7 separate regions of the Homo sapiens genome follow, and all the other regions are linked to region 1. Evidence: promoter capture Hi-C in 16 types of primary human blood cells and fetal thymus (Javierre and others, 2016). All regions are on one chromosome and are shown on one strand. Each heading gives the region's core, a stretch centred on a gene start or on the middle of the fragment in contact. The rest is flanking DNA. Distances are from core to core; before and after follow the strand shown.

What was found. The method cuts DNA at HindIII sites, captures the fragments that hold promoters and counts their contacts. A CHiCAGO score of 5 or more calls a contact.
Region 2: a contact is called between a fragment that was not itself captured here and the fragment with the promoter of FERD3L in region 1, in 3 of 17 cell types (M0 macrophages, M1 macrophages and megakaryocytes). The highest score is 6.6, in M0 macrophages.
Region 3: a fragment that was not itself captured here is called in contact with the fragment with the promoter of FERD3L in region 1 in 2 of 17 cell types (megakaryocytes and M0 macrophages); the score reaches 6.3 in megakaryocytes.
Region 4: a contact is called between a fragment that was not itself captured here and the fragment with the promoter of FERD3L in region 1, in 2 of 17 cell types (M2 macrophages and M0 macrophages). The highest score is 5.6, in M2 macrophages.
Region 5: a contact is called between a fragment that was not itself captured here and the fragment with the promoter of FERD3L in region 1, in 1 of 17 cell types (M1 macrophages). The highest score is 5.4, in M1 macrophages.
Region 6: a fragment that was not itself captured here is called in contact with the fragment with the promoter of FERD3L in region 1 in 1 of 17 cell types (M1 macrophages); the score reaches 6.5 in M1 macrophages.
Region 7: a fragment that was not itself captured here is called in contact with the fragment with the promoter of FERD3L in region 1 in 1 of 17 cell types (M1 macrophages); the score reaches 5.4 in M1 macrophages.

Annotation. Positions count from the first base shown.
Region 1 is chr7:19,143,254-19,147,155 of GRCh38, forward strand. FERD3L (Fer3 like bHLH transcription factor) reads right to left here and starts at 2,168. Exons shown (of 1, transcript NM_152898.2): 1 at 1,529-2,168. The coding sequence starts at 2,109. The coding sequence ends at 1,609. RefSeq lists enhancers at 901-2,100, 2,566-3,214. The HindIII fragment of the contact is 4,985 bases long and covers 1-2,303 here.
Region 2 is chr7:19,654,462-19,658,363 of GRCh38, forward strand. The region is part of intron 4 of LOC105375180 (a long non-coding RNA gene); the gene reads left to right. Among named protein-coding and RNA genes, the nearest start is that of MIR3146, 49 kb to the right of the region's middle. The HindIII fragment of the contact is 5,700 bases long and covers 1-3,902 here.
Region 3 is chr7:19,634,279-19,638,180 of GRCh38, forward strand. The region is part of intron 4 of LOC105375180 (a long non-coding RNA gene); the gene reads left to right. Among named protein-coding and RNA genes, the nearest start is that of MIR3146, 69 kb to the right of the region's middle. The HindIII fragment of the contact is 4,454 bases long and covers 1-3,902 here.
Region 4 is chr7:19,606,275-19,610,176 of GRCh38, forward strand. It overlaps LOC105375180 (a long non-coding RNA gene), which reads left to right. Exons shown (of 5, transcript XR_007060245.1): 4 at 2,985-3,048. Among named protein-coding and RNA genes, the nearest start is that of MIR3146, 97 kb to the right of the region's middle. The HindIII fragment of the contact is 5,642 bases long and covers 1-3,902 here.
Region 5 is chr7:18,684,738-18,688,639 of GRCh38, forward strand. The region is part of intron 12 of HDAC9 (histone deacetylase 9); the gene reads left to right. Among named protein-coding and RNA genes, the nearest start is that of HDAC9, 190 kb to the left of the region's middle. The HindIII fragment of the contact is 481 bases long and covers 1,728-2,208 here.
Region 6 is chr7:19,585,553-19,589,454 of GRCh38, forward strand. LOC105375180 (a long non-coding RNA gene) reads left to right here. Exons shown (of 5, transcript XR_007060245.1): 3 at 3,583-3,718. Among named protein-coding and RNA genes, the nearest start is that of MIR3146, 120 kb to the right of the region's middle. The HindIII fragment of the contact is 3,470 bases long and covers 1-3,390 here.
Region 7 is chr7:18,710,423-18,714,324 of GRCh38, forward strand. The region is part of intron 12 of HDAC9 (histone deacetylase 9); the gene reads left to right. Among named protein-coding and RNA genes, the nearest start is that of HDAC9-AS1, 190 kb to the right of the region's middle. The HindIII fragment of the contact is 166 bases long and covers 2,101-2,266 here.

The DNA of each region.
Region 1 (3,902 bases), core at 918-3,417:
ACAGGGAAAAAAAGACTGGAAAGAAATAGATGAAAATGCTAACAGTATGGTAACGTGGAGTGATTCGAATTTTCTCTTTTTTGAAATTTTTTTTTCCAAAATTTCTAGGATGAGTATATGTTACTTATTAATGAAATGAATTCTATTTCCGAAAGCATGATTAAGAGAATTGTGTGTTCGCACAGGCTCCCGCCTATTTCTGTGTGCAATGAGGGGCGAAATAAAGTGTTGGAATAATCACTGGGGATTATCCTTTAGGATTACTGAATTTATGTTTAGGTTGGCATTATTCAATCGGGTTCCTCGCCTCAGTTACCCACTCCTTTCTGAAAGACCCCAGTTCTGGTACTAGCACGTCACCTAGAAGGAAGAATCCTGGAATGGCACGGGTCCAAACTAGAGGCGGCCTCTCAGCATGGACCCGCTTCAACCTCATCTGCATGGCAGGCGTTTTGCAAGGCGTCAGAAGGCATCTCCTCTTTGGACTTTTTGTCTCCCCTGGTAGTCTCTAGAAGCCATTAGAGTGAAAGCTATCTTTCCTACCTACAGCTAAAAATGTAAAAGTGAGCGCGCTCAGGCGGCCCTGCTCCTAGAAAGATCCAGGCCCCTTCATACCCCAACCCCTGGCCGGGGACAGTTGGTAGCGGTGGCTGGTGGCGAAGCTGCAGGGCGCCCAAGGCCCCCTGCGGCCCAGGAGTGACCCGAGTGCACTCGCCCCTTACTCTGGCCTGGGGCCTGAAGAAGGCACTGGAACACGGAAGCTGATGCTGCACTTTAGATGCAAAGCGTAGATTTGCACTCTGGCTAAGGCACTGAATGAACACCACTGTGGCCCTGGGACAAGGAGCTGTGGTCCGTCTGGGATCAACTAGGTGGCGAAGGGGAGGGAGAAAGGAAGAGAGAGGGCTTGCGCGCGGGAGAGAGGAAGGGACGGGAGGGAGAGGGAATGGAAGACAGGAAGGGTGTCCCTTCTCAGAGGTCGCACTTTGTCAGCAGTTCCTCTCGACTGCTCTGCCTTCCATTTTTCCTTTCCTCAGTTCCTGGACAAGCCTCGGAGGACCAGGCAGAACCCTCTGGCTAGCAGAAAAGCTCGCACCCCCGCACCCTTGCGGCGTCTGCTTCAGACCCTCCACGCAGGCGCCCGCTGGAGCGCCTGCTGGGGATGGCGTACCACCGACCCTTCAGGCTTTTTAAAAACGTAAGAATTTCTACTTTATTATCTCTATGAAAAAAAAAATGTAAAGAAGAGAGGTTAGATTTTATAGAAGCTCCAAAGTCTGCCATTTGCGAGGAGGGTTCACTTCCCACCCACCCAGCCCACGGAAGCTCTTAGGAGCAGCCTGAACGGCCCCGACTCAGCCTCACGCTCTCTGACTTCCCCGCTCGCCCCTGACCCCGACTTCACTTAGGGCGGTCGCGTAGATATGAACTCTACAGCAGCCACTCTGCTCAGCGCATGTGGGGATCTTACAATCTCGACCCCGACCTCCAGAAGACCAGACGTTCTGTCTTGGGGCCTCCCTCCCGGCCCTTTAGCCTCACCCAGTGCCCGGTCCTGACACACCCCAGCACTACCAGACGAGGAAGGGCAGACTCTCCACACCAGGCTCAGCCGCTTTCCTTCTTCTCACAGCTCTCCAAGAGCTCGGTCATGAAGGAGATATAGACGATGGCCAGGCGGAGGGTCTCGATCCGGGACAGCCTTTTCTCGTAAGCAAACGTGGGCACCTTCCTCCGCAGCTGGTCAAAGGCCTCGTTGAGGTTGAACATCCGCTTCCTTTCGCGGATGTTGGCGGCCTGGCGCTGGGCGTAGGTGATCACCCTTTTCCTCTTGGGGCGGCCTAATAGGGAGACACCTCTTCCGCGCTCCTCTTCCTCCTCCTCTTCTCCGTCCCCCTGGTCCACTTCGCACTCCTCTTCTTCTGGGTCCCCCTCTTCAAACCGCGCCATCCTCCTGGGTCTTCCCTCTCGGAGCGCAAGGGCTGGGTCCCCCAAGGAGACCCCGGGTGCGAAGTCGCAGAGGAGAGGGCGTCTCGGGGAGGCCAGGGACAGGTCTGCGACGAAGTCCAGCACCGTAGTGTCCACGCAGCTCTCCGGATAGGCCGCCATCGCTTCGGCTTGGCCCTGCCTCTCATCGGTTTTCCGCAGGGAGGGGCGAGGTTGCTGGTGGGGATTCTTAACAGCCTTGAATCTGATGGGGCACCATCACCGAAAGGCCAGGGAACATTAAATATTTATAACCAAGCTGATAACAGGATTAGTCGCACCGATAAGGAATGCTCTGACAACGTCCCTTCTCTCGAAGCTTATGGAAGATGACAAGCTTGAGCACGCATGGAAGACTCAAAGGGACAGGGCTCCAGTTCTGAGATCCTTTTCTCTGCGCCACCCGGGACAGTTCCTTGTTGGCAACAACCCCCAGCTCTTACCTGCTGTGCTTTTTGTGTCTGTCTTCACCCCTGCAGCCAACTAATGTTCTCCAGGCTCCTTATCTCGTGTAGTTCTTTAATTTCGTGTTGGATTTTCAAAGCGAGGATGTTTTCCACCGCGATGGCTTCTCCTTGACTTCAGGGTAGGAGTCTTGAATCTTGCCACCATCTGCCAATGGATGTGGAGCAAGTGCATGTGCTTTTAATGATGTCCTGAAGAGGGGCCCTGCCTGCCTGGCATCAAGGGGAGCTGTTTGTCTGGTATCCCAGTGCAGCGGCTGCTGAAAGGCAAGACCTTCAATTAGCTTAAGTAAGCATGGCAGGGGGACCGAGAGTGCATTCCCCAGAGTCGCTGTTGGAACCGGCTTTCTTTTCTTTCCAGGGCATCGCAAACAGCTCTCCTGCCACGTTACAAACCCTGACTTCTAAAGTCTGTTTGGATGCAATCAGCGTAACAATTGAGATACTTGACTTTCCTTTCCCTACCTTTACCTCCTACTCATATAAAATAGAGGATTTTATTCCAAGAGGAAAAGTTATGATGGCAATAAAATGAGAAATTTAAGCTCAGGATATTTTCTATGCTCGGGCTTTGCTGTATACTTTTCAGTGTGGGGGACAAAGCAAACTCTCCTCACAAACAAAACCACTTCAAGCTCTTTTCAGAAATGCGATTTGCCCTTGATAAGCCAAAGAGTCAATCAGCTCACCCTCTGCTGAGGAGTCTTCGGACTTTTAAATTGCGGATCGAGTATTTGTTCCCGAACAAAGAAAAAAACCTAACACTTCCATCTGGCGTATTTTCCTCATTGATTTGTATTGTCCTACAGTAAGACTTAAGTGCAGAAACAATGATTTATTGAAATATATTTAAGGGAGTTTTTGGCTATCGTTAGATCGTTATTTTTGAGAAAAGAAAGAGATTTTAAATTTGGCATAAGAAAAATAAGAGATTACTCATTTTATATTATCTCGAGTATCCCAAATATTTTAACAAAAAGGTTCTTTTTCTTTGTTTGCCAATAACTATATTTACTTAATTATTCAGTACTGTGTAAAGATTTATTTAAAAGACCCATTGTGTCAAAGTGACAGATTAGAAGATAATTTTAAAGGTAGATTGGAAGAAATAGCCTAAAAAGATGAATGTAGAAACATCCCGGTTCAAAAGAGAACTGCCCAGGACGTCAGTCCCTATTAAGGGGGTAAGTTGTGGTTATGATGGTTCACTCAGTACATTGGACAGCTCCCAGAAACCAGAAACCGCCTATTTCTAACAGGTAATCTCAATTCATTTTCTTCTTCCTAGCCTCTATGTGTGTAATCAAAACAGTATAACCTTTAATTCTTCTTCTTCTTTTAACCCATTTGTGTCTGGTGTCTCTCGATCTTTTAATAGATTTTATCTTCTTTTGCTTGTGTTTACTCTTCATTCTCCAGTTTGAATTGTGATAACTCAGGCAGAGAATAATT
Region 2 (3,902 bases), core at 469-2,968, 510 kb after region 1:
GCCAAAGGGTCAGTGGGTCAGTCCAGGGGTCCTCGGTAGAAGTTGTTAGTTGAGCTCATTTGGGGTTCCATTTGTAAGACCATTTGTAACTTGATGGCATCAATCCTGGAGGAAACAAGTTTGACAAGGAGGTTAAAAATACAGGGCCCAAAGGCGAGTAATAGCAAGATGGCTGTCAGGGGACCTAGAAAGGGGAGAAGCCATGTCGCCCAACTACAGAGGTTGGTATAAGAGTTTGAAAGGCATTGTCTTATTTCAGAAGCCTTTTCCTGTAAACGCTGGGTGGCACCTCGTACTATCCTTGACTGGTTAGTGTAAAAACAACACTGTTCCCCTAAGAAGGCACAAAGTGCTCCTTTCTCAGTAGTGAGGAGGTCTAGGCCTTAGTGGTTTTGGTAGCAAACTTACTTTTGTTGAAAACCTTTGAAGTTTGGGATTTCAATTATTCTTTGCTATTAATAAGACCTCGTTCAGTCCATATTAACTTAGAATTGGTATAGATGGCTCCTTCCTGATTCTGTACATACTTTCAGGTTTGGCTGAGTGCGAACAGCTCACACATTTGAGCAGACCAATTATTAGGCATTTTTCTTAACTGCTTCTACAAGAGTTTCCTTATCACTTACTGAATATCCCCTGTGTCTTTTTCCCTTAATCGCCCGGGAGGAAACATCTATTGTCCTGTCCTGAAGAGAGTTCCTCCTAGGTCTAGTTGGACCTTTGTATGGTAATTAATTAAGATTTAGATCCCCTGTTAGGAAACTTCCTGGGTTAAGGATTTTTAGTAGGAAGGCTATGGGTTGTGAGTGACCTCAGTGCTTTCGGGCTACGCCCCTGTTTACACTGACAAGGTGGTATTGGGGTGTTATAGGGTTATGGATAAGACCTTCAATTATCAATTATAGGTTTTAAATTTACCCTGTCTTTTAAAGGAATAGGGTACACAGTTTTTTCTTTATACTTTTATCTCTCTCTCTCTCTTTCCTTCTCTCTTTGCCTTTCTGTCTGTCTCTCTTTCTGTCTCTCTGTCTCTTCCTCTCTCTCTGACTCCTTCTTTGTCTCTCTGTCTCTTCCTCTCTCTCTCTTTCCTGCTCTCTTTGACTGTCTTTTCCCTCCTCCCCACCACCTCTTTCTTTCTCTTTGACTTTCTGTCTGTCTCTTTCCTCTCTGCTGGTCTTTCCCTGCCTCTCCTTCCCATTTTTGATGGCTTCGGCATTGCAAGACTGCCACTTCCTTGGGTTTTTGTGCTGCTTGCAATAACTCCATGATTTCCTTGTGGTATTTAATGGGGATTCCCCTAGAGGTTAGGAACTCCCTTTCTTTCCATATTGCAGTATGGTCATGTAGGATTAGATAAGCATACTTGCTATCTGTATACACATTTATTCTTTTTCCCTTTCCCAGTCCTAAGGCTCGGGTAAGTGCCACTCGTTCTGCTAACTGGGTGATGGTCCCTGGGGAAGATGCTTACTTTCAAGTACTGTTACATCACTAACTATGGCATAACCTGCCTTTCATATCCCATTCTCCACAAATAAACTTCCATCGGCATACAGGTTAAGGTCAGGATTAGCTAAGGGGACTTCTAAGAGATTCTCTCAGTGGGCATAAGTCTGGACTATAATTTGTTGGCAGTCATGCTCGATTCATTCTCAATCCTCTGGGAGAAAAGTGGCAGGGTTGAGGGCCACACATGTGTATTAGAAGCACCAGTCCCTCAAGGAGTAGTGCCTGGTATCTGAGCAGGCAGTTGTCTGATAGCCGTAAACTTCCTTTGGCACCTAGAATGCCATTTACATCATGAATAGTTCAGACTGTGAGATCCTTTCCTTGTATTATTTTGATAGCCTCGGATACTAAGATAGCCACTGCCGCAACTACCTGTAAACAGTGAGGCCAACCTTTTGCTGCTACATCAGTTTCCTTACTTAGGTATGCCACTGGTTGTGGGGTTGTCCCATGAGTCTGAGTAAGGACTCCAAGAGCTATTCCCACTCTCTTTGTGATGTATAAAGAGAAGTTTTGTCCTGTGGGAAGGCTTAAGTCTGGAGCTTGTACTAGAGCCTGCTTTTAGGTTTTGAAGGCTGTTTTGCCTGTGGTTCCCATTCTACTAGATGAGTATTTGCCCTCTGGGTCTCCCTGATTAGAGTATAAAGGGGCCTAGCTATCTCGCTGTATCCGGGGATCTATAGTTGGCAAAGGCCAGTGATTCCAAGGAACCCCCAAAACTGTTTTAATGTCTTAGGGCAATGATAAGACAGTATAGGCTGTATTCATTCCGTGCTGAGGGCCCTGGTTCCTCTGGCTAAGATTAGGCCTAGATATGTGACTTATTATAGGCAGAGTTGGGCCTTCAATTTAGACACCTTGCACCCTTGATTAGCTAGAAAGTTTAAGAGATCTAGAGTAGCCTGCTGGCATGAGGCTTCCGAACTGGTAGCCAAAAGTAAATCATCCATATACTGAACAACCAGAGTGCCTGGACTTGAGAAGTGAACTAGATCTTGGGCCTGTGCCTGACCAAACAGATGAGGGCTATCCCTAAACCCCTGGGGCAAGACCATCCATGTAAGTTGGGAGTTGTGGTCTGTGGGATCCTCAAAGGCAAAGAGAAACTGGGAGTCAGAGTGCAGGGGAATACAGAAGAAGGCATCCTTGAGGTCCAGAACAGTGAACGATTCTGCTTCCTCTGGTATTTGAGAGAGCAGGGTATAGGGGTTGGGTACAACTGGATATAGAGGAATTACTGCCTCATTGATGAGTCTAAAATCTTGCGCTAGTCTCCACTGACTGTTCAGTTTTTGTACTCCTAGAATTTGTTGCTGGGACTGCTGCATTTTCTTATTAAGCCTTGAGCTTTTAAATGTCTAACAATATCCTGTAATCCTTTATGAGCTTCAGACTTTAAGGGATATTGCCTTTGATAAGGAAAAGTGGTGGGGTCTTTTAACCTGATTTGGACTGGGCAGGCATTTTTTGCCCTTCTGAATTGCCCTTCTGAATTGTCCTTCCAATGCCCAGACTTCAGGGTTGATTCCCTCCTTAAGCAGGGAACAACAAATGGGTAACTTATTCCCCATATTCACGTAGACAATAGCTTCAGCTTTGGCTAATATGTCCCTCCCTAATAAGGGTGTGGGACTTTCAGGCATAACAAGAAAGGAATGTGAAAAAAGCAAAGTCTCCCAATTTCAACTGAGGAGGTGGGAGAAATACCTGGTCACAGGCTGTCCCAGGATTCCTCGGATGGTAACGGACTTTGAGGATAGCTGTCTGAGACAGGAGATTAACACTGAGAAAGCCATGCCAATGTCCAGGAGGAAGTCAATTTCTTGGCCCTCAAAGGTTAAATGTACCTGGGGCTCAGTGAGGGTGATGACATGAGTTGGCGCTTGCCCCAGGCACCCTCAGTCCTGTTGTTGGATCATCTGGTTGGGGGCTTCAGGCCCGGAGAAACTTTGACCTCTGGGGCAGTACGCCTTCCAGTGATTGCCTTGCCATGTCAGTGGACATGGGCGAGGGGGCAGCTTGTTTCTCACTGGACAATCTTTTTTAAAGTGTCCTTGCAAACCACACTGATAACAAGCCCTACCAGGTGACCGGCCTGCTCCATTTACTGTTCTCTCTGAACCACCAAGGTTTGTTTGTCTGAGTGCCATGACTAAGGCTGCAGCCTTTCTCTGATCTTGCTTTTCCTTTTCTGCCTGTTCCTCTTGGTCCGTATTATAGAACACCAAGGTTGCCAGGTTTAATAATGCCTTCAGATTTTGTTCAGGGCCCAGGGCTCGCTTTTGGAGCTTTCTCCTGATAACTGTTGCTGATTGGGTAATAAACTTGTCTTTTAGGATCAATGGACCTTCAAGTGAGTTGGGTGACAAGGGAGTATATATTCTTAAGGCCTA
Region 3 (3,902 bases), core at 631-3,130, 490 kb after region 1:
AGATGTAGAGAAATGGGAACCCTCATACACTGTTGTTAGTAAGGTAAATTAGTACAACCACTATGGAGAACAGTTTGGAGGTTTCTCAAAAAACTAAAAATAGGGCTTTCATACAATCTAGAAATCCTACTGCTCAGTGTATACCCAAAAAAAAAGGAAATCAGTATATCAAAGAAATATCTACACTCCATGTTTGTTGCAGCTTTGTTCACAATAGCTAAGATTTGGAAACAACCTAAGTGCCCATCAAAAGATGAATGCATAAGGAGTATATGGTACTTATACAAAGTGGAGTACTATTCAGCCATAAAAAAGACGATGATTCTGGCCCCGTGTGGTGCCTTATGCCTGTAATCCCAGCACTTTGGGAGGCTGAGGTGGGTGGATCACCTGAGGTCAGGAGTTTGTGACAAGCCTGGGCAACATGGCTAAACCTTGTCTCTAGCAAAAATACAAAAATTACCTGGGCATTATGGGATGTGCCTGTAATCCCAGCTACTCGGGATTTTAGTTATTTCTTGCCTTCTGCTAGCTTTTGAATGTGTTTGTTCTTGCTTTTCTAGTTCTTTTAATTGTGATGTTAGGGTGTCAATTTCGGATCTTTCCTGCTTTCTTTTGTGGGCATTTAGTGCTATAAATTTCCCTCTATACACTGCTTTGAATGTGTCCCAGAGATTCTGGTATGTTGTGTCTTTGTTCTTGTTGGTTTCGGTTTGCCAGTATTTTATTGAGGATTTTTGCATCAATGTTCATCAAGGATATTGGTCTAAAATTCTCTTTTTTGGTTGTGTCTCTGCCAGGCTTTGGTATCAGGATGATGCTGGCCTCATAAAATGAGTTAGGGAGGATTCCCTCTTTTTCTATTGATTGGAATATTTTCAGAAGGAATGGTACCAGTTCCTCCTTATACCTCTGGTAGAATTCGGCTGTGAATCCATCTGGTCCTGGACTCTTTTTGGTTGGTAAGCTATTGATTTTTGCCACAATTTCAGAGCCTGTTATTGGTCTATTCAGAGATTCAACTTCATCCTGGTTTAGTCTTGGGAGGGTGTATGTGTCAAGGAATTTATCCATTTCTTCTAGATTTTCTAGTTTATTTGCGTAGAGGTGTTTGTAGTATTCTCTGATGGTAGTTTGTATTTCTGTGGGATCGGTGGTGATATCCCCTTTATCATTTTTTATTGCATCTATTTGATTCTTCTCTATTTTCTTCTTTATTAGTTTTGCTAGCAGTCTGTCAGTTTTGTTGATCCTTTCAAAAAACCAGCTCCTGGATTCATTAATTTTTTGAAGGGTTTCTTTGTGTCTCTATTTCCTTCAGTTCTGCTCTGATGTTAGTTATTTCTTGAAAACAGGCACAAGACAGGGATGCCCTCTCTCACCACTCCTATTCAACATAGTGTTGGAATTTCTGGCCAGGGCAATTAGGCAGGAGAAGGAAATAAAGGGTATTCAATTAGGAAAAGAGGAAGTCAAATTGTCCCTGTTTGCAGATGACATGATTGTATATCTAGAAAACCCCATTCTCTCAGCCCAAAATCTCCTTAAGCTGATAAGCAACTTCAGCAAAGTCTCAGGATACAAAATCAATGTACAAAACTCACAAGCATTCTTATACACCAATAACAGACAAACAGACAGCCAAATCATAAGTGAACTCCCATTCGCAATTGCTTCAAAGAGAATAAAATACCTAGGAATCCAACTTACAAGGGACGTAAAGAACCTCTTCAAGGAGAATTACAAACCACAGCTCAGTGAAATAAAAGAGGATACAAAGAAATGGAAGAACATTCCATGCTTATGGGTAGAAAGAATCTATATCGTGAAAACGGCCATACAGGCCAAGGTAATTTATAGATTCAATGCCATCCCCATCAAGATACCAATGACTTTCTTCACAGAATTGGAAAAAACTACTTTAAATTTCATACGGAACCAAAAAAGAGCCCGCATCACCAAGTCAATACTAAGCCAAAAGAAGAAAGCTGGAGGCATCACACTACCTGACTTCAAACTATACTACAAGGCTACAGTAACCAAAACAGCATGGTACTGGTACCAAAACAGAGATATAGATCAATGGAACAGAACAGAGCCCTCAGAAATAACGCCGCATATCTACAACTATCTGATCTTTGACAAACCTGAGAAAAACAAGCAATGGGGAAAGGATTCCCTATTTAATAAATGCTACTGGGAAAACTGGCTAGCCATATGTAGAAAGCTGAAACTGGATCCCTTCCTTACACCTTATACAAAAATTAATTCAAGATGGATTAAAGAATTAAACGTTAGACCTAAAACCATAAAAACCCTAGAAGAAAACCTAGGCATTACCTTTCAGGACATAGGCATGGGCAAGGACTTCATGTCTAAAACAACAAAAGCAATGGCAACCAAAGCCAAAATTGACAAATGGGATCTAATTAAACTAAAGAGCTTCTGCACAGCAAAAGAAACTACCATCAGAGTGAACAGGCAACCTACAAAATGGGAGAAAATTTTCGCAACCTACTCATCTGACAAAGGGCTAATATCCAGAATCTACAATGAACTCAAACAAATTTACAAGAAAAAAACAAACAACCCCATCAAAAAGTGGGCGAAGGACATGAACAGACACTTCTCAAAAGAAGACATTTATGCAGCCAAAAAACACATGAAAAAATGTTCACCATCACTGGCCATCAGAGAAATGCAAACCAAAACCACAATGAGATACCGTCTCACACCAGTTAGAATGGCAATCATTAAAAAGTCAGGAAACAACAGGTGCTGGAGAGGATGTGGAGAAATAGGAACACTTTTACACTGTTGGTGGGACTGTAAACTAGTTCAACCATTGTGGAAGTCAGTGTGGCGATTCCTCAGGGATCTAGAACTAGAAATACCATTTGACCCAGCCATCCCATTACTGGGTATATACCCAAAGGACTATAAATCATGCTGCTATAAAGACACATGCACACTTATGTTTATTGTGGCATTATTCACAATAGCAAAGACTTGGAACCAACCCAAATGTCCAACAATGATAGACTGTATTAAGAAAATGTGGCACGTATACACCATGGAATACTATGCAGCCATAAAAAATGATGAGTTCATGTCCTTTGTAGGGACATGGATGAAATTGGAAATCATCATTCTCAGTAAACTATCGCAAGAACAAAAAACCAAACACTGCATATTCTCACTCATAGGTGGAATTGAACAATGAGAATACATGGACACAGGAAGGGGAACATCACACTCTGGGGACTGTTGTGGGGTGGGGGGAGTGGGGAGGGATAGCATTAGGAGATATACCTAATGCTAAATGACGAGTTAATGGGTGCAGCACACCAGCATGGCACATGTATACATGTGTAACTAACCTGCACAATGTGCACATGTACCCTAAAACTTAAAGTATAATAATAATAAAATAAAATAAAATAAAATAAAAAAGTATTAAAAGAGGATAAAGATATAAAATTACTAGGCTATGAAAGAGAAATATTAAGAGATGAAGACCAAAAATTTTATGTATACAGTCATATGTCATGTAAACACTGGGATATATTCTTAGAAATGTGTCCTTAGGTGACTCTGTGATAGTGGGAACATCATAAAGTATATTAACACAAACCTAGGTGGTATAGTCTATTGCTCCTGAGCTACAAACCTGTACAGCATGTTACTGTACTGAATACTATAGGCAATTGTAACCCAATAGTAAGTATTTGTACATCTAAATAGAAAACTCCAGTAAAATATGGTATAAAAGATTTTAAAAAGTGGTACATCTGTATAGGGCAATTACCATGATTAGAGTCTACAGGATTGGAAGTTGGTATTGATGTGTCAGTGAGTGATTGAGATGAGTGAATGTGAAGGCCTAGAACATTACCATATTC
Region 4 (3,902 bases), core at 905-3,404, 460 kb after region 1:
CCCAATGACAGAACTAACTTACATAAATTTTAAAACAACTGTCTTCAAGAGGTTCAAAGAACTAAAGGAAAATGTGGAAATATAGAACTTAAACAGCACAATAAACCAACTAGATGTAAAAGACATATGCAGAACACTCTCTTTAACAACATCATACACATTCTTTTCAAGTGCAGAGGGGACATTCTCCAGGCCAAAAGTTAAGTCACAGTATATTTCAAAATACCTGTCATACAAAGTATCTTCTCTGACCACAATAAGATAAACCTAGAAGTCAAAAACAGAAGTAAAACTGGAAACTTTACAAATTGTGAAAATAAAACAGCAAACTCTTAAGCAACCAATGGATCAAAGAAAAACCATAAGGCACATAAGGAAATAGTTAAAGATGAATTAAAACACAACATACCAAAACTTAATAGGACTTAGTGAAAGCAGTACTAATGGAGAAATTTATAAATACTTACATTAAAAAAACAAGAAAGATCCTAAGTCAACAATTTAACTTTACACCTTAAGGAACTAGAAAAAGAGAACAAACTAAGCCCAGAGCTAGCAGAAGTAAGAAATAATAAAAAGTAGAACATAGATAAATGAAATAAATAATAGAAAAAATAGAATCACTAAAGCCAAAAGGTGGTTCTTTGAAAAGATGAATAGAGTCGACAAGCCTTTAACTAGCTAGACTAAGAAAAAGAGTTAAGAGGACTCAAATTACTAAAATTAGAAATAAAAGTGCAGATGTTACTACTGATTCTACAGCACAATAAATGATTCTAGGAGAGTTCTATGAACAATTGCTTGTCAAAAAATTGGATAACCTAGATGAAATGGACAAATTTTTAGAAACATAAAACCTGTAAAACTAAATCATCAAGAAATAAAATACCTGAATAAACTTCTATAGCGAGTAAGAAGATTGAATTAATATAAGTTCAGTAATCAAAAACTGTTATAAATGATAAATGAATTCAGCAAAATAGCAGGACAAAAAGTTAACATGCAAAAACTAGGTGCATTAATATACACTAACATAACTAATATGAAAAGGAAATTATAAAATAATTCAATTTACAATCATTTCAGAAAGAATAAAATATTTAGGGATTAATCTAACCAAGTAGGTGAAAGACGTGTACAATGAAAACTAGAAAACATTGGTAAAAGAAATTGTTGACATAAAAAAATGAAAACATCCCATGACCATAGATTGGAAGGCTTAATAGTGTTAAGATATCAATACTACCCAAAGAAATCTATAGATTCAATACAGTAATAAATTCCCAATAATGTTTATTTGTAAAAATAGAAAAACTCATCTTAACATGTATATGAAATTTCAAAGGAAACTGGGTAGCCAAAATAGTCTTGAAAAAAAGAACAAAGCTGGAGAACTCACACTTTCTGATTTCAGAACTTACTGCAAAGCTATGGTAATCAACACAGTATGGTGTAGGTACAAATACAGACTAGTGAAATGGAGAGCCCACAAATAAACCCTCACATATATTGTCAAATGATTTTTGACATGACTGTCAAGAGCATCCACTGGGTAAAGGACAGTTTTCAATAAATGGTGCTGAGAAAACTGGATATTAACAAGCAAAGGAATAAAGTTGGAACTTTATATAACAACATATACAAAAATTAAATGGATCAAAAACATAAATATAAGACTAAAAGAAATAAAACTGTTAGAAGAAAACATAGAGCACAGGCTTTACAGCATTGGATTTGGCAATGATTTCTTGGATATGAGACCAAAGGCACAGGCAACAAAAGAAAAAATACACAAATTAAACTTCCTAAAAAAATAATTTGTGCCTCGAAAGACACTATCAACAGAGTAAAAAGAAAACCCACAGAATGAAAGAAAATATTTGTAAATCATACATCTAAAGAATTAATATCCAGAATATGTAGAGAACTCCTAACATTCAATAACAACAACAACAATAACAAAATGCAAAAATGGGCAAAGTACTTGGGTACACATCTCTCCGAAGAAGATATGCACATGGCCTATAAGCACATAAAAAGATGCTCAAAATCACTAATCATTAGGGAAATGCAAATCAAAACTGCATTGAGATACCACCTCACACAGACTACAATGGCTACTATAAAAAATAGTAAAAATAAGTGTTGATGAGGATGTGGAGAAATTCGTACACTTGTGTAGTGCTGGTTGGAATGGAAAATAGTGTAGTTGCTGTGAAAAACAGTATAGTGAGTGGTTCTTCAAAAAATTATGAATAGAATTACCATATGATCCAGCATCTTCACTTCTGTGTATATACCTAAAAGAATTGAAAGCAGGGTCTTGAAAATACATTTGCATATCCATATTCATAGTAGCATAACTCACAATTGCAAAAATGTGGAAACAACCCTAGTGTCCTTCAGTGGATGAAAGAGTAAACAAATGTGGTATATCCATACAATGAAATGTTATTCAGCCTTTAAAAAAGTAACTTCTGCAATCTGCCATAATATGAATGAACCTTGAGGACATTATGGCAGTGAAATAAGCAAGTCACAAAAAAGCAAATATTGTATGAGTCCACTTATATGAATTACCTGGAGTTGTCAAAATCATAGACATAGAAAGTAGAATAGTGATTGTCAGGGATGAGGAAGAGGGAGAAATGGAGACTTATTATTTGATAGGTATAGAGTTTCAGTTTTACAAGATGAAAAGTGTTGTGGAGTTGGATGGTGGTGATGGCTATACAACGATATGGATGTATTTAATATCACTGAACTGTACACTTACGAGTGATTAAGATGGTAAATTTTATATTATGTATATTTTACCACAATATAAAAAATTAGAGAAAAAAAGAAATGGTGGGGAACAAAACTAAAAGAGGGCTTAAAATTAAATAAAGGAATATGATATGTATCTCTTCACAAAAAAGAGAAGCAAATATAAGATAATTTCCATAATAATATTATTCTTCATTGGTTGCTTTCCTATCTAGCTTGTTGGATAAAAAGGAATGAACAGGAGCTCACCAGCCATCAGAGAATTGCAGCTAACCCTAGGTAAGCCTATTGGAACAAATCCTATGGTCAAAGATATATTTCTCATATAATGAGAAACAAAACTACAGTTGAACAGTTGTGTTAGAAATAATCCATGTAGCACTTTGAAATGTGTCCATTTATATTTGGTTTATATGACGCACCAGCCTCTACACAGTATTACAAATATACTGCTTATCAACGTCAAAGTGACTAGAATGACTAGAACACTGCCTCCATAGAAACTTTCTTTTTTTTATTATTATTATACTTTAAGTTTTAGGGTACATGTGCATGGACACAGGAAGGGGAACATCATAGAAACTTGCTGTCGTACCTCATTACAGTACAGATTATCTACCTTTACTTTCCTATAATTCCCTAGAGCACACCTCTCTCATTTTCCCTGTATTTTCTAAATTTATGGAATACATACAGCTTGGAAATCTTTATGATTATCAGTCTATTGTTCTAACTTTTAATTATCTGAATCATAATATATGGGTTCTCTAATATATATTTTTATATTATACTGTATATATAATATTAGTAGCAGCAGCCAGCTTGCTTGCTTGTATCCTTCCTCCTTCCTTTTTTCTTTCCTTCCTCCCTCCTGACCTTCCTTACCTTCCTCCCTCTGTTCCTTCTTCCTCTTTTCCTCCCTCTCCCCCTTTCTTACGTTTCTGTAACATGTTATAATGTCTTTCTGGCTCTAGGATTGTGCCATATAATGCCTTTCTCCATCATAGCTTCCTCGTTTCAGAGATATTTTGTCTGCGAATATGTGAAATAAATGTCACATTCCAGATTGGCAGAATAAATGAGTATTCTTAGAACTTGGCAATTGGGTGCTACGGATCCTATTTAATACTCCT
Region 5 (3,902 bases), core at 718-3,217, 460 kb before region 1:
GAAGTAACCCCCTACACACAATATATATACACATATATTTATATGTATATGTATATTTATGAGTGAACTTTTTTCTTTGCACACTTTTCCTAATGGTGTCATGGAAAACTCCCCTCCACCTAAGTTATGTTCTAAAGCCAATCTTCTAGTTTTTTATCACATCATTTCTCTTGATTTTAAACATTTGAAATTTGAAGGAAAATGGTTTCTTCTGTAACATGATCCTCTCTATTCAGTTTTATGTGGTTTTCTTTTCCTTGTTACTTTTCCTCCTCAAGGTCCTCCCACTTTTTTGTTGTTAAATAAAATTCGTCTGAATCTCTCTTTGAAGATAATTTATGGAGAGAAACTGTCCTCCACCCTCACTGTGGCTTACCACAACCTCTAGAAAGGTTAGTTGGAGTACACTGAAATAAAAAAAGACTGTCAAACAGCAGTTCTCTAGCTATGGAATCTACTGGTGTTTTGCTGGAAAGCTCATAAAATGAAGTGTCATTATGCACTGTGCTATACCATCCATTGTGTGTTCTAACTATATCACTCCCTTTTCCACTTACCCATGGGAAGCAGCTTACCCAACCAGTCTGGCCTATGTGATGGAGAAGCAAAGATCTGAAGAGCCAGTTTTTTTTTTGTTCTTGGCCAGCTATACAATTTCTAGGTGTTCTATGCCTCAGTTTCCTCATTTGTTAATTGAAAGTGTTAATCCTGATCTTCATCGAAAGACTATGGTTTGCTCACCCATGCTGACATGTAAAGATGACATATAGCCACAGCTTTCTTGACAGTTATCAGGAAGACAGACCAATATTGAATGACCATCTTAGTTTTAAAAATTATTTTTCTTTTATGTTCATATAATTTCCTTTAAAATTCTAACTAGTAGAAAAAAGATTTGTTCAGTGTTTAAGAAAATGTCAAGTGAATGCTGATTTACTATTTTTGAACTAGAATTGGCAAATAGATTTCCTCCTAAGGGGGGTGGGGTGAGATGGAAGAAACATTCTATGCGACAGAGTTTTTGATATTCCTCAGGAATGAAAATAACCTAACTAAATTAGTCATAAAATATATGCAGAAATAGCGTGTGCCAGTATTTAAAGTTTAAACACTATTAAAAATAGTGTAGAATGGCAAAATTTTATTGTTGGTAGGAATGTTAGATAATGACAACAATAACAACAATGAAAGGTAGTAGGGATTGAAAGCTAATTAATTGCCAAACACCATACCCAGTAATTTATGTTTATCATTTAATCACCATTTCATATTTACCAAAGAAAAAATGAAGACTTCAGTGTGGTAAAGCAGAAGTCATACATCTGAACTATGATAGAGCTCAGATTCCATCCCTGATCCATATCCAGAAAGGTTGAGAGGCTGGCTTGGAGTCTCAGTCAATTTGTGGTGATACAGTAACAGACACTCAGGTCTGACTCATAAACTATTCAATGTAACTTCAAAATACAGTACTTTCAACATCAAATCAGAAAAGCCATTTGCTACTATGCTAACTTTTCAACCAAGTCTTCTTTACTCCCTCCAATTATTTTCATGGTAATGTTCCAGCACTTGTAGAAAGCAAAGGCAAAGATGGAATGTGAAAAACTCCTATCAGTCAGGAAGTCACTGTATGGATGGCTTCACAGTTGTGGCCCTGCTTTTTTCCTTCATACTAAACACATGTCTTAGCATTTTTAATTCTTCTATTCATCTCTAGTTCATAAAGCTTACATCTTGTGGTCATGGCTTGGAAGACTACAAATGTCATTTATGAAATCCCCAACTCTTCCATTCTTATATTACATACTTGATGTGGAATTTGCCTTATGTATTAATGTTTTAAAGTCTAAATATATATTCATTCCCTTCACCTCTTAGAATATCTAGAGAAACACGAATTTAGATATATAGCCTGGCATAAATTCTTCACAAATGGCTGAAGTCTCTTTAACCTACCTGGTGGATTCTGAAATTTTAACTCTGTCAACATTTATACAAAACTTTTTCCTCTTCTCCGTACATAGTTATAGTAAAACACTATGTTTAAAAGAATGGTTGGAATCCTCTCACCTTCATATGTAAAAATCCTCATAAAATAATTCAACTAATCTAACATAAACCTTCATTTCTTTAATTGCTTATCACACATCAGAATGTGCAAGGCATTATTTTAAATATTGGACATGGTCCCGCCTGGCTCCAATAAGCTTATAACCTGATAAGAAGAGGGTAAATTATACATATATAAAATTATTAGATAAAAGATGTTAGGTACTACATGATAGGAACAGATACAGTATGCTTTGAGAGTTCATATTTTTATAATTGTTTAAAGTCTGAATTTTCCAAGTACCATGTGCTTTACATAAATATAAATAGTTAATAAACATTTATGCTTTCTAATCCTATCAAAATTCTTAGTGTAGCTTCTTAATGTTATTTCTGTATATACACATTTCCTAGGGCAACACATTTTCCAGCATAGGCAATAAGCTGTTCAATATGTAACATAAGCTAGTAAATAGTACAACCGATTTAAGTAGGTACCATTTAAATAAATCTTCTACTCAATGCACTGGCCATGCCAGATCCCTTTATGTGTATTTGCTTGCAAAACCACAAACTAGTTTACTCTTCTTGAAATAACAGATATTCAAAGGTGTATGATATAATTTACAACAATATTTTTATGTTATAATTGATACTATCATAGAACCCTCATTGATGGGAAATAAATGTCTATATTGGGATAAATAACATCTATACTTTTCAAAAGTCCTTCAGTGAATTTTGCATTCTTTTATTTTTCACATCTCCGGGTATAGTAGTAGATGCAGGACATCATTATTTTGGCAATATTCAGGTATCTTTGATATTCACTATGGAATAAATTATTTCAACATATCGAGAACAGATCCAAGGAGGTGACCTCAAAGACCTGAAGGTTAATTAATGGACTAGGCTATCCTGACTCAAAATGAATAGGAATTCAGAAAGGGAAGAAGAGGGAAAGCTGTGTATTTCTGCAGGGATTCATGACTAGTTAGATGGACATATTTTATTATGTTTTTTCACAAGGGAAACATTTTTCTTCATTGTATATTGAGGTGTGGTCTCTTATAATAAAGATTGTTTTAGTCTTTACCCAATAAATTTTCCACAGTATCTGGTATAAACTCTGGCTAGATAACTTTTTACTTTATAGAATTTTTCCCTAATGTAATGTGTGAAGGAGTGAGGTAGCTATCAGATTTCCATTTATAAGCTAACTGAAAACATGGAAACTCCACAAACAGCCCATATAACCTGAAAATTGAGCAAAATGACTATATATACACACACACACTTATATATGAGCTATGTCTATATGTGTGTGTATTATTTAGAATACTATTTTTCTATACATCAGTTTGTTCTACTCCATTACTCTTTTAGTTTTCAACAAGTGGAATAAAAAATAGGATTTCAAAAGCAATATCATAAAGAATAATATTCTCAGAGAGCAAGAAATGATGGAGGAAAAATGCTGTTTTATAAAGCTCAGTCTGTTTAGTCTAGCCTTAGTTTGACTGCTGACACCGGGAATGCATTTCTAAACTTCTAAATGATGAAGGTTCCATTTCTAGTATATTTATATACAAATTTTATGAATAATGTGCAAATTTACAAAAGATGATTTGCTTTACTCCAATTCCAGTGACATTTTCCAACCAATTATTTTAGAAATATTTTTACATATGCCCTCTATATTGCTGATAAAAGCTGACTCCTGAAGGTTACATGTTTATTCTCTAATAGTTTTCATTTTCCAATTTTGATACTGACTTCTGGGTTCACTTATAGTTGGCACATCCTTTTTTTCCTGTTTACTTCTTTGTAAACCTTCTTCCAATACACAA
Region 6 (3,902 bases), core at 406-2,905, 440 kb after region 1:
ATGCTCGTAAGAGGTCAGTATTCATTCTCACAATAAAGTTCATGGACTCCTAATTGTTTAAGGAGACAACCAAGTTAAGATGAGTGAACTACACAAATGTCTGGGAGATAGTCATAGGCAACACTAGTTAAAAGGAAGAGGAAAATGACAGACAGGAGGCAGGATTCAGGACTGTTAAGTTCATTTTGTTGCTAAAGTAAATTTCAGTTTCATTTGACTGTGCACAGTTAAAATGACACAGAACACCATATAAAAGATTTGGGGGTTGGAGAGGCAGAAGCAAGGGATATTCCTAAAGTTATATTTCATATAGTCATATCTTGTTCTTGATCTGTCCTTTTTGCATCCAAATATTTACTCCTCTCTACCCACTCTCTAATAACTGATGTCTCTGGTGGTTGTGCAATAACACAAGGAATGGATGATGCAAAAGGAGGTAGCTGATAGACCTGATAAATGCAGCTATCGCATAACCATCTGGTCTCGTGACTCTAAGGGGGGTCCCTTTCCAAACACACAGTTAGCTGAAGGAAATAGTCAACTTCTTTCCTCCTTCATCCAATACCTTGTATAAAGAAACCTATCCTTATAGATCATAAAGTTTAAGAAATACTAACTTTTTTACTACCCACCACTCTGTCTTTTAGCTGTACTACACTATACCATCTCTATCAAGTGGCAATAACTCCTGTTTTAAAGCATTGCTTATCCTGCTAAAGTTACTCCTTCCAATAATAACAACATGTATTACAGGAAGTTTTTCATTCTACAAATATTTTATATTATGCCTGTTATGGGATGCTAACCATTCATTGTTATTCAATAAATACACAGTAATTGCCAGGAATATCATTTGAGAATTTCAGATAGTGGTTTGTGTGGTTTTTGAAAAAGTCAGTTTAAATCCAGAGTTTTACTTATTATGTTTCTTTTTCTATAATTTATAAAGGGGTACTGCAGAAATTCTAACCACTCTGACAAGATAATTTTGTGTTTTGTTATTTGTATCGTGACACATTGGGAAGAGTTTTACTGATTTTAGCATAATTTGGTTCATTAATAAAGTTTTCAAATTTTATTTATAATGGTACAAATAAACATCTTTTAATATACTGTAGGTGATTTCATTGAAATGTACTAAACAGTAGAAATGACAGTGAGTTTTGGTGATAAAAGTCCACCAATACAAAATGATATTGTAAGGGCTTTCTATACCTTAGTTTTCTTATCTACAAGATGTACAAAAGGCTTTTTAATCAAACCCCTGAAGTTATACCAACCAAGGAGATGGAAGTAATAACATTATACAAGCACAACGGATGAAGCAAGTCCCAGCAGAATACTTACAGTGTATCTTAAGTTCAGAATAAGTGAAATGAAATATGTGGACATGTATATTGGTAAAAATGTTAAGTATTATGAATAATAAATGAAATTTAGAAAGCTATTGCTTATCAGGAAGATAGAATGTGGAAGTACATTTTGGTAAACATTGGTAATTATTACTATGCTCTGCTTCTTGAGTTGAACAGGAGGTTTGTAGCTATTCATTATAGTATTAAATAAATGTAAAAGTAAATCAATAAAATAGTCATACATGGGACAATAATGATGATGAGTTTTGAGTTAAGCATATGATTGTGGAAGGCAGAATTCTAAGATGGCCCCAATATCCCCACCCCTCTGTTATACACATTTTCTTTCATTTATTGAATTAAATAGTAATCTAGGTGGGTCTGTAAAGGGATTTTACAGATATAATGAAAGTCTCACATAAATTGAGTTTATGAGAGAAAGATTATCCTGGACCGGCCCTATCTAATCAGGTGAACCCTTAAAATAAGTCAGAAGGATTAAAAGAGACAGAGATATTCCCTTGTTGGCCTTGAAAGAGCAACCACCATGTCGTTAATAGACTGTGGTTGAGGGATGTGGCAAGGAACTTAGGATGACCTCTAGGGGCTGAGTGTGGTCCCAGGCCAATAGCCACCAAGAAGAAGGGAACCTCAGTCCTGCAACTGCAGAAAACTTCTTCCAACAACCTGAGTAAACCTGACAGAGTACCCCAAATTCCAGATGAGACTCCAGCCATATGGATACCTTGTTTTTAGCTTTGTAAGATGCTAGGAAAGGGTCCATGTACACTGTGCCTGGCGTTTTGACTATAGATGCTGTGAAATAGTAAATGAGATGAGACCAGAACTATAAAGTCCAGACTCATTAGAGGACAAATTTCAGACCAAAAGCAATTTGATGTAGTAATAATGATAAATAACATTCTATTTTGTCTTATTATTATGTTTAGATTATTTTCTTTCTATTATTAAGGGTGTATCTCTAAATGAAATGATTTGCCCACTTTTTTCAGGAGTTAGATATGTTTTTCTTTGCAACAAAACAATGTCATTGCGAGTACAGCCAGACAAAAGTACGCTTCTGAGAAAGGCGTTTAAAGGAACTGCATATCTAGATTTGTCATAACTCAGCACCAGCACCTTGACTCTCATAATCAGGGAGGTTCTATGCTGTCTGGGAACCTATATGCAGCAATTGATAGCAGTTTTTAAATTTAGGACTTGAAGAAATTGACAAGTGGGTATGTTGAAAGTGATTCCCCATATTCAGTTTACTTTGTATTTAAATCACAGTAAGTTATTTTTTAAAAAGGATAATGTTGTATCAGTTCTAATTTCTCCAGCATGGAATTGGTAGGAAGGCTTAGCCAAATTGGGCAGGGAAGTAGTTCATTTCTGTGCCTCCCTTGGTTCTTATCTAAACCTGCCTACTGATAGATATTAGGCTTCCTGCTTCAGGGCCCTAAGTGTTAGGTTTTCTTTATGTAATTAATCTGTCTCAAAGAACTGAGATTTTATAAACTGATTTCTATTGAAGCCTTCAAATATATGCTTTGAAAACTGCTAGCTGTTAATGTGTGATTATGCATCTATTCTTTCTGTGAAATCGGTGTTTTTCTATACCCTGCACTAGCATTAATGTTTATAGAAATATGATTCCTATTTTTAGTATGATTTTTCTTCCACTTTTTTTCTTCTAAGAAAGAAGTTATGAGAGGAGCTTGTTAGACATATTGGGAGGAAGAATTGCTTTCTCCTTGCCACCCAGGTTAGAAGGAGATAGCTACTGTGGAGAGGTAGCAGGCACAGATCCCCTGAAGTTCCTGTAGAAAACTTTACTATTTGTTCCATCGTTAGTAACTGACAGGAACACTATGGCTACCATATTTGCTGGATTTTTTCTTAAAAGACAATCTCACAAATTTCTCCTTTGTTTCGTTCTTATGCCATTTGAAGTAAAAGCAATTATACGTAATACTGGAATTTTAAATAATGATTGAGACTACTGAACAACAGGGCTGACAGAGTAGATACAAGCTTTAACTTTTATCACAAACTTTTGATTACATACAGTACTCCTTAGGTGACTTGGCCTTTTTTTTAGTTTGTTTAACATTTCCAGCGTCTGAGTATAAAACCACCAATGATTTTTAAGAGGAATACTAAAAATCCTAAAATTAGAAAATATGTAGTTGAATACTTACTTGCTCATATAATTTCATATCAGCTTTCAGGATCTGTAAAGAGACACAACTGTTTTACAGTTCGATTGGAACTGGGGAGGAGTTTAAAAGAATCACAGTAAGCCCTCTGGTCTTTTCCAGGAGGATAATCAACAACATTGACTGATTATGTTTGTATGGGTAAGTATGTCTGTTTATAGATAATGTTAGTTCTCCTCCAATGAATGTCTTCTATGTAAATAGACATGAAATTCATACTGTTTGAAGCTGTCTGTTGGTTTAGACTATTCTAAATTGCACTGAGTATATGATGTTGAAACACGCTGATCCCTTTGCAGACCTGTCGCATATTAGAAGGGTTTCC
Region 7 (3,902 bases), core at 934-3,433, 430 kb before region 1:
GATTATTTTCACATGCTTATATCAATCATACACACATGCACACATATACAGATATGTACAGAAACACACATATATGCATACACACATACATACGTATATATATACACACATACATATTCTGGTAAAAAAAATTTCACGCATAATCAAAGCCCAAAGGAGGTTAAATATTCAGAATATTAGCTCATTAACATTCAGCACATTGGGGATAATGTCTATGTTAATGGTATCCGTTCATCTAACAGAGGGTTGGCATTCATACCTAGGAGTTGAAAGTACATCAAATGCTCCTTGATGAGCTAAGCAAAGTGAAAATGTACGTGCTATTCCCCTAACAAGGAAAGCCGCTGAAGTTTAAATAACAGAAAAGAGCACATGGATAGAGAAAAAGTTAATGCAGAACATTTTGTTGCTTTATTATTCAGTGACAGAGATTAGCCAGTGGGGAATATATATATACATGTGTATATTTACCCATATAAATAAATATAGATTTTAAACTAACAGTCACAAAGGATATCATACATTTCAAATTTGCATACAAATAGTACTTCCTAAAATTGGCAATTTGATTTACTCATCTTCTGAATATCTTCTGCAGGTGTAGTAATAATTTTCAGTATGTCTGGATGCCTAGAATATGTTTAGCAGTGTCCTAAGTATTTTAAGTGGATCCTCTCATTTAATTTCGACAACAATCTCTATGCAGTAGATACTACTGTTATTGAAAATTTACAAATTCAAAAGATGGGGCAACTGAGGCTTTAAGGAATTAAGTAACTTATCTGTCATCGTCATTGCTCCTCATTGCCCCAAAGTAGAGAGAACATCTCAATTCAACAAATCATATTGATTCCACCTTCTAAATATCTCAGGGGTCCACCTTCCTCTCTCCAACCCACTGCTGCAACTCTGGTTCCGGCTGCTGTCAACTGAGTTAATGTAAAGTCTCTGGTAGTCTGACTACTGGAGTTTAATAACCCAAGTGGTTGACTAGTGTTTACAAATAAGCTCATATTAGTTTTGATTACTAACCTCCTGCTGTCACAATAGTCCTAACACCATAATCAGTGTCTCTCAGGTACTTCCGGGTCTTCCTCGAGGGAGTCTTGCACGTGTTGAGGAATGAGTCTGTGCTCAGTTGAGAGCCACCAATACCAGCTGTGGTCTGCCACACCCACCACCCCTGCCCACACTTGGGGTTGCTGCTTCACAGTTCTCAAAACTTTACAATCCTCAGAGTGCAAAGTGACTCTTCATTCCTTTTAGCCCTCAATGACTTTTTTGTCACAAATGAGAGGAACGCTGTCTTCCAAACTGTTTCATTTTGCCACAAAAGAACAGCACTTGTGCTATAAATCTCATATGACACAGTTCTTTCTACTTCTTCCTGAAGGCCTTTTCTCTTGGAGCTCAAATAGCCATTCACCAGGCTCAACAGAGAACACACTTTGTTCGGGGCTGTCCATTCCCTGTCTTTTCCCATCTCTTCTCTCATTTCTCACCATACTTCTTTTTTTTTTTTTTTCCTTCGGGAAAACAGTCAACCAAACAAAGATAAATCAAACTCATATCAATCAATGCAAATGCCCAGTGGATGTAGTGGGCCAGTGTGCAGGATGAAGGATGTGTAGTAAACCCCTTAGTAGTGCACTGGTCATGGCTCATCAGGTTTGCCCATAGCCAGTCTTTGAATTCCAATTTAAATAAATAGGGGTACTTTAAGTCTTCCTTAAATTTAAATATAATCACATTTTTTCATTCTTTAATATACATCAGCGACTTCTCATTGTTTTCTGATTAAGTTAAAATCCCTAAAGATGTTGACAAATTTTTCATTAACTGCTTTCAGTTTTTTCTCTTTCATCAGCGGCAACAACCTTCTCTACCAACCTTGCTTCAAACTCCATGTTCTAGAGAAGGGATGGGCTCTAGCATGTGGGACTATTGCATGATAAACAAACAGCAGTGCATAGAGCTATTGTAGAATGCCATAGTCACTTATTCTGCAAGTTTACAATAATTCCTGTTTCAGTGTCAATTTATAAATAGCTACTAATAACTAAAAGCATGATTTTAAATCTGCAGGTATAAGCAATAACAAGCTTAGTTAACATCTAAGAATGATGAGAACTGTTTTAGCCTTTACTCAAGTTGTGAACAAATATTATGATGATGACTCTGCTGAAGAACCAAGCAGAGGATAAACAATGCCAGTAAATCCTAGGTATTGCAGGTTCATTGACATGTTATAAATCAAATAAAGTTAAGCTTGCCAATAATTGAATATAACCACTTTAACATATTATTTATATTGCTTATTGAGCCTACAAGTATAATTTTGAATAGCAATGTTTGATACTTTACAAATTATAATAGCATGTGCATAAATGTGCATAATAATATTATTTTATGTCTTTCAAGGAGATGAAATAACTTTTATATGCAAGAGTTTATTCATGTAAGCCAGGAACTATTTTAGTGAGATTTACTTTGTTTCTATTGATTCTATTTAGAGCTGAATCTGTAGCACTAAAACCAAATAATACCAGACAAGGTCTTAAACCAAATTGTTAAGCCTTGTCTAATCATATTATATTATCCATTTGTTCTTTGTTCCGTTTGATGAGCATAGTTAAAATCAGGTAACTGAAGTTAACATAACTTGACGCAAAAGCAATGCAAGTTGTATAGCAGAACAGAAAAGTCTATTTTGTGGGCAGTGACCACTAAAAATAATTGTGAGAAATGAGTGTCATAAAAAAAAAATTTGACTGTTGATAGATGTGACAATTTATGACAACTAATGAGACCACTTAGCAGAATCTGCATACCTTTGGTTGCTATAGGCCAAATTATTAAACAGTGTTGTTAGGATAATAGTTTGGTGATGAGCATTGCAGATGAGTTGATAAAAATTATTGACCCATGAGACTAAATACAGGGACTATCTCAAAAACCAATTGTTAGAAGATATGTAAGAACAGAGACACAAAATAATTAAGTACGTGAGGTAACATATATGTTAATTAGATTGATTTAGCTATTCCGCAATGTATACACAGATCAAACATCATGTTTAACACCATGAATATATACCACTCTTATTTATCAATTACAATTAATTTTTCAAAAGAATGGAGCCATCACAACAGATTTAGAAAGATTTGTCTTGTCATCCTCATAAGGATGTAGGGCATTTATGCAAGAAGATTTATTAATATAAAAATATTAGTAAATTATAATAAAAATATATGTAAGAAAAATCAACATGTGCATAATTCTGCATAAGGAGCTAAATGATCATGGAGGCTGAGAAGCACCATAGTAGATGGTTAATGAAGTGGTTAAAGACTGTTAAACAATATCTAGTTGTGACTAGTCATAACTGATGACTGTGGCATTGGTGATGGATATCAGAAAGAAGGCAGAAGTTTGGCTCAATAACACCTTGTTATAACGTATTTTGGTAATAGAGTCAATTTGAGTTTTAAAAAATAAGTCGTTGATAACAATGATATATTAATGATCAATTTCCTTATCCTATTTGGAGAAATACCTGATACTATGAACGTTTAAATAACAATGCTAATTAGATTAGTCTTTTTTGCAGATAAACCACTTATTCTGGAAGAAAAAGTGCTTATCAAATACACTGTCATTTCTTTATTTTATAGATGTGCTCTGAGAGTTCAAATAAAGTTTTCCTAATTTGCATCTTTGTAAAGTGGTAGAGCTGGAGTACAAACCAAGGAGTTTGTTTTTTTCTGAATCCTGTGCACTTTTTAATAACGTCATTTAATTTGCGTAGCAAGGTGTGTGAAGATTAAGTTGCCTACTCTACGCAAAACATAGGTTATTTTTCTGCTGGAATAATCATTTCTAATGCAAATTTGTTCTTATCA